2 separate regions of the Homo sapiens genome follow, and region 2 is linked to region 1. Evidence: promoter capture Hi-C in 16 types of primary human blood cells and fetal thymus (Javierre and others, 2016). All regions are on one chromosome and are shown on one strand. Each heading gives the region's core, a stretch centred on a gene start or on the middle of the fragment in contact. The rest is flanking DNA. Distances are from core to core; before and after follow the strand shown. Region 1 holds the start of SEC23IP (SEC23 interacting protein). Region 2 overlaps ATE1 (arginyltransferase 1).

Region 1 (7,208 bases), core at 274-2,773:
TCCTGGAGATAAAAAGGCAATTAGGTCATAGCTGCTGAAGAAGACTGCAGTCCAAATGGAGAGGCAGGTGTGTTTATTTCACAAACATTAAATCACACTGTCTGGCACGCACTATACTTAGCGCTTTGCAAAAATTAAAGCATTTCTAATTACAATTCTGTGAGGCTACACATACATAGAAACTGAAGCACAGAGAGGTAAAGTAAAATGCCTACAGTCACACAGCAAGTTACTGGCAGGGCAAGGACTGGAATACAGACAGTCTGTGCTCTTAAACACTATGCTCTGGGCAATGCTACATAATCATCAAAAAGCAATCTCCCTGGACAATAATACAAATATGAAAAAAGAGCTAGGAGTGCACATAGGAGTGGGGGCCTAAGAGAACAAGAAACAGCTTCTTGGAAGAAGTGATGTATTGTCTTGAAAGATGAGGAATGGGTGGGGGGTTAAACCTGTAATCCCAGCACTTTGGGAGGCCAGGGCAGGCGGATCACTTGAGGTCAGGAGATTGAGACCATCCTGGCCAACATGGTGGAACCCTGTCTCTACTACAAATACAAAAATTAGCCAGGCATGGTGGCAGACGCCTGTAGTCCCAGCTACTCGGGAGGCTGAGGCAGGAGAATCACTTGAACCTGGAAGGTGGAGGCTGCAGTGAGCCGAGATCGCGCCACTGCATTCCAGCCTGGGCGACAGAGCAAGACTCCGTCTCAAAAAAAAAAAAAAAAAAAAAAAGATAAGGAATGCATTGTATATGTCTACTTCACAAATATTACAGGCTTCTAGAAGAGGGGCACAGTCCATCTTATAAGATATCTTACTGTAACCTAGAAGATATTGTACTGTATCACAACAATCTCCTAGTAGGAGACAGTGTACCGTATCCTAGGAGAGGGGCACAGTCCATCCTAGGAGGTATCTTACCGTATCCTAGGAGTCTCCTAGTGGGAGACAGACTACTGTACCCTAGGAGAGGGCCACTGTTTAATTTATTTGCATTTCCTGCCAGCACCTGGCGTACCAACAACGGGTATTCAGCAAAGATTTGCGGAATGCCAGGGTACGAATGAATGTCCAGCACTCTGGACAACTCGGAACAGGGGGTTTCCGTGAAGAGCAAGTCTCATCACCTGCCACCTCCAAGATCCCAAAGCCCCCGACCCACTCAAACCTGGCCAGTAATGATCCTGGCAAGCTATCCAGAGGGTAGCTCGAGGCAGAAGGAAAAACTCCCGTCTGACCTTTGTCATTGCACGTCCCCCGCCCGCCTCCCACCACACACGGGGCCGCCCTCCCCTTATTACCTCCCGGTAAGAGCAGGGAGGCCGGAGAAGCGGAGGCCTGGGTGACTGGGATGAAGGGCACATTGAAGCTGAACTCCGTGGCCGAGGAGGAGAAAAGTAAGTTAGTGCCCGATGAGGAAGTGGAGGCGCCGCCGCTGCCACCGTTAGGTTTTCTCTCGGCCATGGCTGCGGCCCACCGTCCGATACACGTCTCCGGGTACCCGGTACCACACCACTGACCGGAAACCGATCACGCTCCTGGCCAGCGCACTTCCGCACTTGCGCACAGGAGCCGAAATTACGGGTAGCTAGTCAGCCGCCCTCTCCCTTCCCCTACACGGCGACGCCAGATATCAACATGGCGACACTGTCTTCACGCCCGCGTCTAGCACGTGACACCCTCGGAGGCGGAGGCCGGGCGGGAGGATGGGGACGTGGTCCCCGCAGGTTCTGGATAGACGTGCGAATTGAGACGCAATTGACCCTGAAAGTCACAGGTTGTGGCGGGTATCTATGGGCTTCCTAAAGGTACCGTCAGGATGGCTCTCCTGACAAAGATTTTGGAGGAACAGCGGAATCCTGCTGGACGCTACCGGAAGGAGGAAGGGAGGAAGAGCGTTGTGCGGGAATGGGAATTCGCATGCTAGGCGGAACCAAACACCCTCTCCAAAACCCACTTGTCTTTCTGGATGGAACCGAACATTGTGGTTGACCCAGAAATAGAAGTGGTAAAACATTTTTTAAGTGTTTAATCCATAGGGAGAAAAAAATATTTCGTTTTATTTTTGTTGTTTTTTGTTTTGCATTTGTTTTTTGTTTTTTTGGTTGGTTTTGTTTTTTGTTTTGAGACAAGTCTGCTGTGTCGCCCAGGCTGGAGTGCAGCGGTGCAGTCTGGGCTCATTGCAATCTCCGCCTCCCGGGTTCAAGCGATTCTCCTGCCTCAGCCTCCGAGTAGCTGGGACTACAGGCGTCCGCCACCACGCCTGGCTAATTTTTTGTATTTTTAGTAAAGACGAGGTTTCACCGGGTTGGCCAGGATGGTCTCAATCTCCTGACCTCGTGATCTGCCCGCCTTGGCCTCCCAAACTGCTGGGATTATAGGCATGAACCACCACGCCTGGCCAAAAAAAATATTTAAAAGAGAAATCAAACCAGACGCCATGGCGCAGGCCTGCAATCCCAGCACTTTGTGAGGCAGAGCGGGAGGATAGCTTGAGCCCAGAAGGTTGAGACCAACCTGGCCAACATGGTGAAACCCCGTCTCTACTAAAAATACAAAAATTAGCCGGGCTTGGTGGCATAGCACCTATATTGCCAGCTACTCAGGAGGCTGAGGCGGGAATATTGCTTGAGGCCAAATTAACCCTGATCTTGCCACTCACTGTGCAGCGAGACCCTGTCTCCTTAAAAAAAAAAAAAAGAAAAAAAAAGAAACCAGGGCATTGAAATTAGAGATCTGACATTTTAGATAGCTTTCTATATCCACAGTAAGCTGACTTACTTCAATCCAGGAGGTACTGTGGATAACTTGGACATAATTGTCATCTTTCATAGTTAGAGATTTTGAAGGAAAATATAACTTAAGCCATATTTCAGCTTCTTGGAGGTTGGGAGAGGAGATACCAAAAGAACGCTCAAAATAATGAAACTCTGCTCAGCTGTTTACACATATATAGAACCTAAGTTTATTAATTCAATAACGATTTCATGTGCTTACTGTCAAGAAAAATTTTTTAAGTGGGACACTCGTTAAAGCAGTAAATTAGATTTTATTTAATGAAAACTATTGCTAGGGAATTGGGTCCAGCATGAACTGAACACAACTTTGCTGAAACAAAAATTTGGAGGCTTTTTAGAGGCTGTGGTGTGCTAAGGGAAAGGTGCTGAGGAGTGTGAAGGGTTGGTTCGTCCTGCAACTAGGCCATCTGGGTGTGTTAATCCATGCTTATCCAGAGGAGACATAATTTTTCTGTCTTCATGACAAGCAGTGGTGTAAGAGAGCAAGGTAGCCACAGGGACTGGGAATGAGAATGAGAACCACCTCCTTGAAGGCTTGCAATTCAAGAGACAAACCCCCAGGTCCTTGAGAAGACAGTTCTCAGTGGTCATGTGTCCGGAGTTGGTTCCTTCCGGTGGGTTCTTGGCCTCACTGACTTCAAGAATGAAGCCGCGGACCTTTGTGGTGAGTGTTACAGCTCTTCAAGGTGGCACAGACCCAGAGTGAGCAGCAGCAAGATTTATTGTGAAGAGCGAAAGAACAAAGCTTCCGTAGCGTGGAAGGGGACCTGACTGGGTTGCTGCTGCTGGCTCGGGTGGCCAGCTTTTATTTATTTATTTGTCACTGCCCTCATCCTGCTGCTTGGTCCATTTTACAGAGCGCTGATTGGTCCATTGTAAAGAATGCTGATTGGTGCATTTACAATCCTTTAGCTAGACACAGAGTGTTGATTGGTGCATTTTTACAGAGTGCTGATTGGTGCATTTACAATCTTCTAGCTAGACACAGAGCACTGATTGGTGTGTTTTTACAGAGTGCTGATTGGTGCATTTACAGTCCTTCAGCTAGACACAGAGCACTGATTGGTGCATTTACAATCCTCTAGCTAGACAGAAAAGTTCTCCAAGTCCCTACTCAACCCAGGAAGTCTAGCTGGCTTCACCTCTCAATCCCCCCTCTAAAGAGGACACCCCAAGAGCTGTTGGGAATTGGGCAATGACCTCTGTAGCTACTTCCTGCTGGATGGGTTGAAGAAGGAGCCCTGCAGTTGTAGTGTCCTCCAGAGGGGAACTCTTTATGCCAGTCAAAGGGCCAGCGGGTTGGTGCAGGGGTCCTCAGTAGAAGTTGTTAGTTGAGCTCATTGGGGTTCCATTTGTAAGACCATCTGTAGCTTGATGGCCTCAATCCTAGAGGAAACAAATTTGACAAGGAGGTTAAAAATACAGGGCCCGAAGGTGAATAATAGCAAGATGGCCATCACAGGACCTAGAAAGGGGAAATGCCATATCGCCCAACTCCAGAGGTTGATATAAGAGTTTGAAAGGCGTTGTCTGATTTCAGAAGCCTTTTCCTGTAAACACCAGGCGGCACCTCATCCTATCCCTGACTGGTTAGTGTAAAAGCAACACTCTTCCCCTAAGAAGGTGCAAAGTCCTCCTTTCTCAGCAGTGAGGAGGTCTAGGCCTCGGTGGTTTTGGAGGGTCACTGCTGCCAAAGAGTCTATTTGGAATTGTAGAATAAGGATAGATTTTGTTATTTCTTGCAAACTGTCTGAGAAATCCTTTGAGAGTGTGTGGTAGTAGGATAATATATGTTACACTGTTAACTTTTAGCAAACTTTACTTTTGTTGAAAACCTTGTAAGTTTGGGATTTCAATTATTCTTTGTATTAATAAGACCTTGTTCAATCCATATTAACTTACAATTGGTATAGATGGCTTCTTCCTGATTCTGTGAGTACTTTAAGGTTTGGCTGAGTACTGATAGCTGGAGCACGTTTGAACAGACCAATTATTAGGCAATTTTCCTAACTCTGCTTCTACAAGAGTTTCCTTATCACTTACTGAATACTCATTGTGTCTTTCTCCCTTAATCGCTGGGGAGGAACCAGCTATAGTCCTGTCCTGAAGGGAGTTCCTCCTAGATCTGGTTGGACCTTTGTATGGTAATTAAGATTTAGATCCCCTGTTAGGAAACCTGCTGGGTTAAGGATTTTTGATAGGAAGGCTATGGGTTGTCAGTGGCCTCAGTGCTTTCGGGCTATGCCCTTGTTTACACTGACAACCAGGTGGTGTTGGAGTGTTACAGGGTCATGGAGAAGACCTTCAATTATCAATTATAGGTTTTAAATTTACTCTGGCTTTTAAAGGAATAGGGTACACTGTTTTTTCTTTACTACTTCTCTCCCTTTCTCTCTTTCTTTCTCTTTGACTTTCTGTCTCTTTCTCTCTTTGACTCCTTTTTTGTCTCTGTCTCTTTCTCTCTCTCTCTTCGACTTTCTGTCTTTCTCTCTTTCTTTCCTTCTCTCTGCTGGTCTTTCCCTGCTTCTGCCAGCCGCATATGCTGCTATGCTGCTGTTCTCCCCTCTCCTTCCCCTTTTTGATGGCTTCAGCAGTGTAAGACTGCCACCTCCTTGGGTTTTTGCACTGCATGCAACAACTCCATGATTTCCTTGTGGTATTTAGTGGGGGTTCCCCCGGAGGTTAGGAACTCCCTTTCTTTCCATATTGCAGCATGGGCATGTAGGATTAGATAAGCATAATTGCTATCTGTATACACATTTATTCTTTTTCCCTTTCTAAGGCTCAGGTAAGTGCCAGTAGTTCTGCTAACTTGGTGCTGGTCCCTGGGGGAAGAGGCTTACTTTCAAGTATTGTTACATCACTAACTATGGCATAACCTGCTCTTCGTATCCCATTCTCCACAAATGAACTTCCATCAGTATATAGGTTAAGGTCAGGATTAGCTAAGGGGACTTCTAAGCGATCCTCTTGGGTAGCATAACTCTGGACTATAATTTGTTGGCAGTCATGCTTGATTGGTTCTCCATCCTCTGGGAGAAAAGTGGCGGGATTGAGGGCCACACATATGCGTATTTGAAGCACCGGTCCCTCAAGAAGTAGTGCCTGGTATCTGAGCAGGCAGTTGTCTAATAGCCATAAACTTCCTTTGGCACCTAGTATGCCATTTACATCATGAGTAGTCCAGACAATGAGATCCTTTCCTTGTATTATTTTGATAGCCTCTGACACTGAGATGGCCACCATCACAACTACCCATAAACAGTGAGGCCAGCCTTTTGCTACTATATCAATTTCCTTACTTAGGTATGCCACTGGTTGTGGGGTTGTCCCTCAAGTCTTGAGTAAGGACTCCAAGAGCTATTCCTGCTCTCTCTGTGACATATAAAGAGAGGTTTTTGTCCTGTGGGAAGGCTTAAGGCTGGAGCTTGTACTAGGGCCTGCTTTAAAGTTTTGAAGGCTGTTTCTGCCTCTGGTTCCCATTCTACTAGATGAGTATTTGCCCTCTGGGTCTCCTTGATTAGAGTATAGAGGGGTCTGGCCATCTCACTGTATCCAGGGATCCATAGTCAGCAAAGCCAGTGATTCGAAGGAACCCCCACAACTGTTTAAATGTCTTAGGGTAAGGATAAGCCAGTATAGGCTGTATTCGTTCCTTGCTGAGGGCCCTGGTTCCTCTGGCTAAAATTAGGCCTAGATATTTGTCTCGTTATAGGCAGAACTAGGCCTTCGATTTAGACGCCTTGTACCCTTGATTAGCTAGAAAGTTTAAGAGATCTAGGGTAGCCTGCTGGCATGAGGCTTCCAAACTGGTAGCCAAAAGTAAATCATCCACATACTGAAGGACTAGAATGCCTAGACTTGAGAAGTGGCCTAGATCTTGGGCAAGTGCCTGACCAAACAGATGAGGGCTATCCCTAAACCCTTGGGGCAAGACCATCCACGTAAGTTGGGACGTGTGGTCTGTGGGATCCTCGAAGGCAAAGAGAAACTGGGAGTCAGAGTGCAGGGGAATACAGAAGAAGGTATCCTTGAGGTCAGGAACAGTGAACCATTCTGCTTCCTCTGGTATTTGAAAGAGCAGGGTATAGGGGTTGGTTACAACTAGATATAGAGGAATTACTGCCTCACTGATGAGTCTAAGATCTAAGCACTAGTCTCCACTGACCATTCGGTTTTTGTACTCCTAGAATTGGGGTGTTGCAGGGACTACTGCATTTTCTTGGTAAACCTTGAGCTTTTAGATGTCTAACAATATCCTGTAATCCTTTATGAGCTTTAGGCCTTAAGGGATATTGTCTTTGATAAGGAAAAGTGGTGGGGTCTTTTAGCCTGATTTGGAGTGGGTGGGCATTTTTTGCCCTTCCAAATTGTCTTTCCAATGCCCATATTTCAGGGTTGACT
Region 2 (7,208 bases), core at 390-2,889, 2.0 Mb before region 1:
CAGTTCTTACACTTAGAAGGAATATTGTTACATACTTTTCTCCAATTTTTGATGCTCAAGACTGTACTGTAAATATATACCTGTATATAAATCAGGAGAACTAATAAGCACAAAACATTTTGCTAAGTTTTCTGAAGAGACCAGCATGTTAAATCATTGGGGATATTTATTAAAGTTTGAAGGTCTGATGCAGTCTGATTGCAGTGAGGACTTAAATTTATGCTGTCATAGAGACTATTGACTAATCCTCAAATAAATATAATTAACTTCGATGTGTTTTTTTGAATGAAAATATATATAGTGTCATTCTTTATTTGTGCTGTGTGTATGCCCAACTAACAGCTGTGAAGTATGTACAAACTTTTCATTTATCCAATATGAGTGTTTTGGAATTTTAACCTAAACACTCCTATTTTTTTTTTTTTTTTTGAGATGGAGTCTCACTCTGTCGCCAGGGCTGGAGTGCAGTGGCGTGATCTTGGCTCACTGCAACCTCCGCCTCCCGAGTTCATGTGATTCTCCTGCTGCAGCCTCTTGAGTAGCTGGGATTACAGGCGCCCGCCACTATGCCCAGCTAAATTTTTGTATTTTTAGTAGAGATGGGGTTTCACCATGTTGGCCAGGCTGGTCTTGAACTCCTGACCTTGTGATTTGCCCGCCTTGGCCTCCCAGAGTGCTGGGATTACAGGCATGAGCCACCGTGCCCGGACACACACTCCTATTTTTAAACCTCACACTTTGAATTTAAAAAAGAAAAAAGGTTACCCTGCCGTAATTAACACACTACTTATTTTTTCAGGCATGTGGGCACATTCCATGACAGTACAGGATTATCAGGATCTCATAGACCGAGGATGGCGAAGGTAAAGCTTCCAGATACAAAGAGACTTCCTACTGTTACTCAGGTTCTTGAAAAATACAGCATGCCTTTGAAATGCTTTCCTGTTGGAAAGAGGTTTAAGAAAAATTTTTATTATATTCTTTTATGTAGTGATTTTTTGTCTCCTTTTTAAAAAACTTTGTTAGGAAAATGTCAAATATCTATAAAAGCAGAGAGTACATTAGAATGAACCTCAAGTACCTATCACTAAGCTTCAGCAGTTATTAACGTTCTGCCAATCATGTTTGATTCTCCTGCTCCACCTTTTAATATTTAACAGCAAATTACATCAGTAGGTTATTATGACATTTATCCTATCAATAGATAGGCAATAAGTATGTATCTCTAAGAGAGAGGTCTTTTTTTCTTTTTAACTTATCCACAATGCTGTATCACACCTTACAAAATTAATAAAAATTCTTTGATGTTACCTGTTACCTACTTTTTATTAGATTTTCCAGATTGTCTCAAAAATGTCTTCTTTAACAGTTTATTTGGATAAGGATTTCCTTAAAGTCCACACATGGCCTGTTTTGAGTAGTTATTTTTATGTGGATGATTTTTAAGTAACTCTTAGGTAAAGTTCCTTGTGTAAATATAAGTAATATTAAATACTGTACGCTAATACTTGCCAAAGACGTGGGATTGGGAGCACCAGCTGAAATATCACAACTTTCCTTAAACTTAATGAGATTCAAAAGGTAGACATAGGTCAGATTTTAAAGGACTTCACATGCCATGATAAGGAACTTTTTTTTTTAGAGACATGGTCTCGCTCTGTTGCCCAGGCTAGAGTCGCTCTCTTGCCCAGGCTAGAGTACAGTGCCATCATCATAGCTCACTGTAACCCCAAATTCCCACACTCAAGTGATCCTCTTGCCTCAGCCTCTGCAGTGGCTAGGACTACAGGTGTGCATCACAACACCTGGCTAATTTTTCAGTTTTTTGTAAGATCTTGGCTATGTTGCCCGTGCTGGTCTCGAACATCTGGTTGCAAGTGTTCTTCCAGCTTAGCTTTTCAAAGTGTTGGGATTATAGGTATGAACCACCATGCCTGGCCAGAACTTTTTAGAAGGCAGTCATGGAAGGATTTTATGGTAAGAGAGAAATGTGAAGGAATTTGTTTTAGAAAAGATTGTTCAGATGGCTGAGAGGTATTTGAGGGGGGGTCATAGAGGCAGGAAGATGAGTTCAAAGGTTATTGCGCTATCCAGATGTGCGATGATGAGGACTGTCACCTTAGTGGCAATGGTGATAGAGAAGAGGGGACAATTTAGGATAGGGTTTAAAATGAAGGAAAGCTTGCTAATAGGATATAGAGGTGAATTCCAGGGAGGAGTTTAAAATGACTCCCAGGTCTCTGACTTGAGAACAGAATGAACAGTTCTGTTAGTACCATAGACCTGGAATGCATGGAAAGAAGCGGGTTAGTTTTGGGGTACTCCGTGCTGGTGCATGTGGAATACCCAAGTGTGGTTGTCACAGGCATCACATACATGAGTCCCACAGCATCGTGGGCATTTCTCTCATTGCCCTTGTGGTATTGGGGATTGGTGGCAGGTGAAGGCAGAGCAGGGGTGGCAGATGCTGGTGAGAGGGGAACTGAGATGATTGGCCGTGGGGTACACAAGTAAAGCTTTAGGAAATAAAAGGCAGGGTTCTAAACTTTGCTACACGCACTTTGAAGATTATTTGGCTTATGAAGAGTAATTAAACCTACATGCATTTCTACAATGTTGATTAGATTTTTAACCTTAATTTAATGCTCCTGTGCTAGGCTGTTTTGGTGCAAGTGAAAAATATATAAGACATTAACAAACTATTTTTATAATTTTAGAAGTGGAAAATATGTGTACAAACCTGTCATGAATCAAACATGTTGTCCTCAGTACACAATAAGGTAAGAATTTTAATTAGTAGAAAGAGGATTTATAGTATGAAGATTGTGTATAATATTTTAGTAGTCTCTTGTGCTTTTTTAATGTTTATTTCCGCTCTAGGTAGATGTCCTTTAAAAGGAAAAGTAAATGAGTTATGTCTTTTCTTCATACTGATGCTGTATTTATGTGCTGATCAGTAGGTTTTAGTAATATTGTTTGATTGGTTCAGATATAAATATGTGAAAAAAATACCCTCTTAATTTAGCAATCTTGTCAATGAATGCCATGAAATATTGGGAAAATGTTGGTAAATATTCACATTACTTTTGGATATTAAATATTATAGGACTTAGCTTAGAATTTTCTGCATTCTGGTGTATTGCTTGACACAGTGCTTGTGTTCAAGCAATGCTACAGGCTCCTATAAATTACTTGGTAGGTTCACGTTCTCATGTTGTGGGATTCAGGAGGACAAGAGAGACCTCGGGTTAAAACAGGAGAAACTTTATTGAGTGCACTTAGGCCCAGCTGACTCAACGTCTAAAAGACTGGGCCCGGAACAAAGACTTTTATACACAGTTCACAGAAGGGGGTGGGCTAGCTTGAAGCAAGCTTACAGTGGCGTGAAAGCAGGGATACAGAGGCAGGACAAACTCAGGATTGCACATGACCGTTGCCAAGCAACCCAGATGTCCGTTATCTAGGTTTGCCTGGGCTTATCCCATAATCTTCACTATGGTGCCCAGGCAGCTGCAGTTCAGGCCTACTCAGGCTTCTCATGACATTCATTGTACTTCTCAGATAAAACAATACTTGAAGTCACTAGTTACAGAGAACAGGAATCTATGAACTCATTCCGTAAAACAAAGGAAAATTTATTTTTTCTTCTCTGCATGTTGAGTGCTGGGAGAATCTCCAGAGCACACTAGATAATATTATCAAGGCTTTTCCTGGGTCTGGGCCGTGCCTGTTGCTGCCTCTGGGACAAGTCGGCCTAATACAGGAAAGCTTATTTATCTTTCTTTTTAATTTTATTTTTCTTTAATTTCCCACCTCACTCACTTATAAGTGGGAGCTAAACCTTGGGTACTCAGACATAAAGATGGCAAAAGTAGAAGCTGGAGACTACTAGAGGAGGAGGGAGGGCGTGAGCTAAGGGTTGAAAAACCAACTTGGTATGACGATCAGTACCTGGGTGGTGGGATCATCCATATTGCAAACCTCAGCATCATGCAATATATCCAGGTCACCAGCCTGTACCTATACCCCCTGAATCTAAAATAAAAGTTGAAAAAAAAATTAATTGGAAGGAAGAGGGCTTAAATTTAATCTGCCACTTACACTTAGAGTCCAGTTTTTTTTTTTTTTTTTTAAAGAGACGGAGTCTCGCACTGTCGCCTGGGCTGGAGTGCAATGGCGCGATCTCGGCTCACTGCAACCTCTGCCTCCTGGGTTCAAGTGATTCTCCTGCCTCAGCCTCCCGAGTAGCTGGGATTACAGGTGCCTGCCACCACGCCCGGCTAATTTTTTGTATTTTTAGTAGAGATGGGGTTTCACTATGTTGGCCAGGCTGGTCTTGAACTCCTGACCTCATGATCCACCTGCCTCAGCCTCCCAAAGTGCTGATATTACAGGCGTGAGCCACTGCACCTGGCCCAGAGTCCAGTTTTCTTAAATGGGAAACTTAAACCAAAGTCTATTTTCCTACAAAGTCTTCGTTGGATTTTTTCATAATCTTTTGGATTTTCCATGTACCTTCTCACCTCACCCTAACATAGAAAAATCTTCTCTCTTATTCTGGTTATAAGGTCATCATCATCTTTTTCTTCTTTTTTCTTTTTTTTTTTGAGACAGGGTCTTGCTCAGGCTGGAATGCAGTAGCACAACCATGGCTCACTGCAGCCTGCCTGCCAGGCTCAAGTAATCCTCCCACCTCAGCCTCCCAAGTAGCTGGGACTGTAGGTACACACCACCAGGCCTGGCAAATTACATTTTTTTTTATAGAAAAGGGGTCTTGCCATGTTTCCTAGGCAGATCTCACCATGTTTCCTAGGCTGATCTCGCCATGTTTCCTAGGCTGATCTCCAACTTCTAGGCTCAAAGGAGCCTCCTGCCTCAGCCTCCCAAAGTGCTGGGATTATAGGTGTGAGCTACTACTGCACCTGAACCTTTTTTTTTGATAGAAAATGTGAAAAGTGCGTTAACATTTTGAAGCATGTATTTGCCCCCAATTTCAATGTGTATATATACTCATAAAATTAAAAGACAGTTTTACTTTAAGAAATGAAAAATTAAAAAATTAAACAGTTTTTTGTCCATTAGTTTTTTTGTTTGGTCCTCAAAGCTGTCTCCCTTGGTTGCTCTTAACTTGTTTTTGGGTTGCAAACCATTTTGAGAAGTCGATGAGAGCTGGCCTCCTGCCCAAAGGGATGTAGACAAAAATATGTAACATTTTGCATATCCTCCCCACCGAGACTGAGTCTTGCTGTGTCACCCAGGCTGGAGTGCAGTGGTGTGATCTCAGCTCACTGCAGTGTCCGCCTCCTGGGTTCTAGCAGTGCTCTTGCCTTAGCCACCTGAGTATCCGGGACTACAGATGCCCACCGCTAGGCCTGGTTAATTTTTGTGTTTTTAGTAGAGACGGGGTTTCACCATGTTGGCCGCGCTACTCTCGAACTCGTGATCTACCCACCTCAAAGTGCTGGGATTTCAGGCGTGAGCCACCATGCCCAGCACATTTTGCGTGTTAATTTTAGAATGATCGCAGACTCCCAAAGGTTCACTGATACTTGATTAGGAGCTTTTTTTTTGAGATGGAGTCTTGCTGTCGCCCAGGCTGGAGTGCAGTGGTGCTATCTCGGCTCACTGCAACCTCTGCCTCCCGTGTTCAAGCGATTCTCCTGCCTCAGCCTCCCGACTAGCTGGGATTACAGGCGTGCACCACCACACCTGGCTAATTTTTTTGATATTTTTAGTAGAGATGGGTTTCACCATGTTGGCCAAGCTGGTCTCGAACTCCTGACCTCAGGTGATCTGCCCGCTTCAGCCCCCCAAAGTGCTGGTGTATCTGGAGTTGGTTCCTTCTGGTGGGTTCTTGGTCTCGCTCACTTCAAGAATGAAGCCGCAGACCTTCGCAGTGAGTGTTACAGCTCTTAAATGTGACGCAGACCCAAAGAATGAGCAGCAGCAAGATTTATTGTGAAGTGTGAAAGAACAAACCTTCCACAGTGTGGAAGGGGACCCTAGTGGGTTGCCACTGCTGGGTAGGGTGGCCAGCTTTTATTCCCTTATTTGTCCCTGCCCATGTCCTGCTGATTGGTCCATTTTACAGAGTGCTGATTGGTCCATTTTATAGAGTGCTGATTGGTCCATTTTATAGAGTGCTGATTGGTCCATTTTACAAACCTCTAGCCACAGAGCACTGATTGGTGCGTTTTACAATCCTCTAGCTAGCTACAGAGCGCCGATTGGGGCGTTTTACAATCCTAGCTACAGAGAGCTGATTGGTGCATTTTACAATCCTCTTGTAAGAAAAGTTCTTCACGTCCCCCCCACCCCCGCCCCGACCCAGAAGTCCAGCTGGCCGTTGGATTGGCAGAGGATGAGAAAAATGGGGTCTGGTTTGCTGACACTGTGTCATTACACAAAGAATAGAATGACAGAGTATCCTGTGCTGTCCTCTTTCAGTTTTCGTGGTTATAAAGAGAAGGTATCTTCTAAGGCAGAAGTCATTTGTCTTCAATTAGCAATTTATTGGATTATGGACAGGATTCTATTCATAAGTTTGAAGTTGATTGGCTTAATCTGTGATCAGAAAAGGGTGATTTCGATTGGTTAAAGAAAAAAGAATCTAAATTGTATTTGGTGCCTGTTACATGGAAAGCACTATTCTAAGCATATTGCCTTTATAAAAGGGGATTCATTAACATTGCAAAATAAAGTAGTTATGTGATTTTTGCATTTTACGTGGCATCAAATGTTTCCTGAATTGCGTCTCTTTGTAATTCATTATACATCATCTTTTTTTTTTTTTTTTGAGACAGAATCTTGTTTAGTCTCCCAGGCTGGAGTGCAGTGGCGCGATCTCTGCTCACTGAAACCTCCGCCTCCCAGGTTCAAGTGATTCTTCTGCCTCAGCCTCCTGAGTAGCTGGGACTACAGGCGCATGCCACCATGCCCTGCTAATTTTTGTATTTTTAGTAGAGACGGGGTTTCACCATATTGGCCAGGTTGGTCTGGAACTCCTGACCTCATGATCCGCCTGCCTTGGCCTCCCAAAGTGCTGGGATTACAGGCGTTGAGCCACTGGGCCCAGCCACATCATCTTTTTATGGAGTCATTTTCCATATTTACTCTTCTGGTTATTTTTACCTTGTATATAACAGCAGTTGCAATGAGAACTTAGATAAAGGAAAGGGGCTTATAGCTAACAGCTTAGCTTCTTGTTA

Evidence for each region. The method cuts DNA at HindIII sites, captures the fragments that hold promoters and counts their contacts. A CHiCAGO score of 5 or more calls a contact.
Region 2: a contact is called between a fragment that was not itself captured here and the fragment with the promoter of SEC23IP in region 1, in 1 of 17 cell types (M2 macrophages). The highest score is 6.2, in M2 macrophages.

What each region holds. Positions count from the first base shown.
Region 1 is chr10:119,887,045-119,894,252 of GRCh38, reverse strand. SEC23IP (SEC23 interacting protein) reads right to left here and starts at 1,523. Exons shown (of 19, transcript NM_007190.4): 1 at 1,308-1,523. The coding sequence starts at 1,470. RefSeq lists enhancers at 1,275-1,785, 1,786-2,296, 2,297-2,808, 4,609-5,147. The HindIII fragment of the contact is 6,362 bases long and covers 1-3,551 here.
Region 2 is chr10:121,917,921-121,925,128 of GRCh38, reverse strand. It overlaps ATE1 (arginyltransferase 1), which reads left to right. Exons shown (of 12, transcript NM_001001976.3): 2 at 800-863; 3 at 2,718-2,780. Among named protein-coding and RNA genes, the nearest start is that of ATE1, 6.5 kb to the left of the region's middle. The HindIII fragment of the contact is 1,089 bases long and covers 1,095-2,183 here.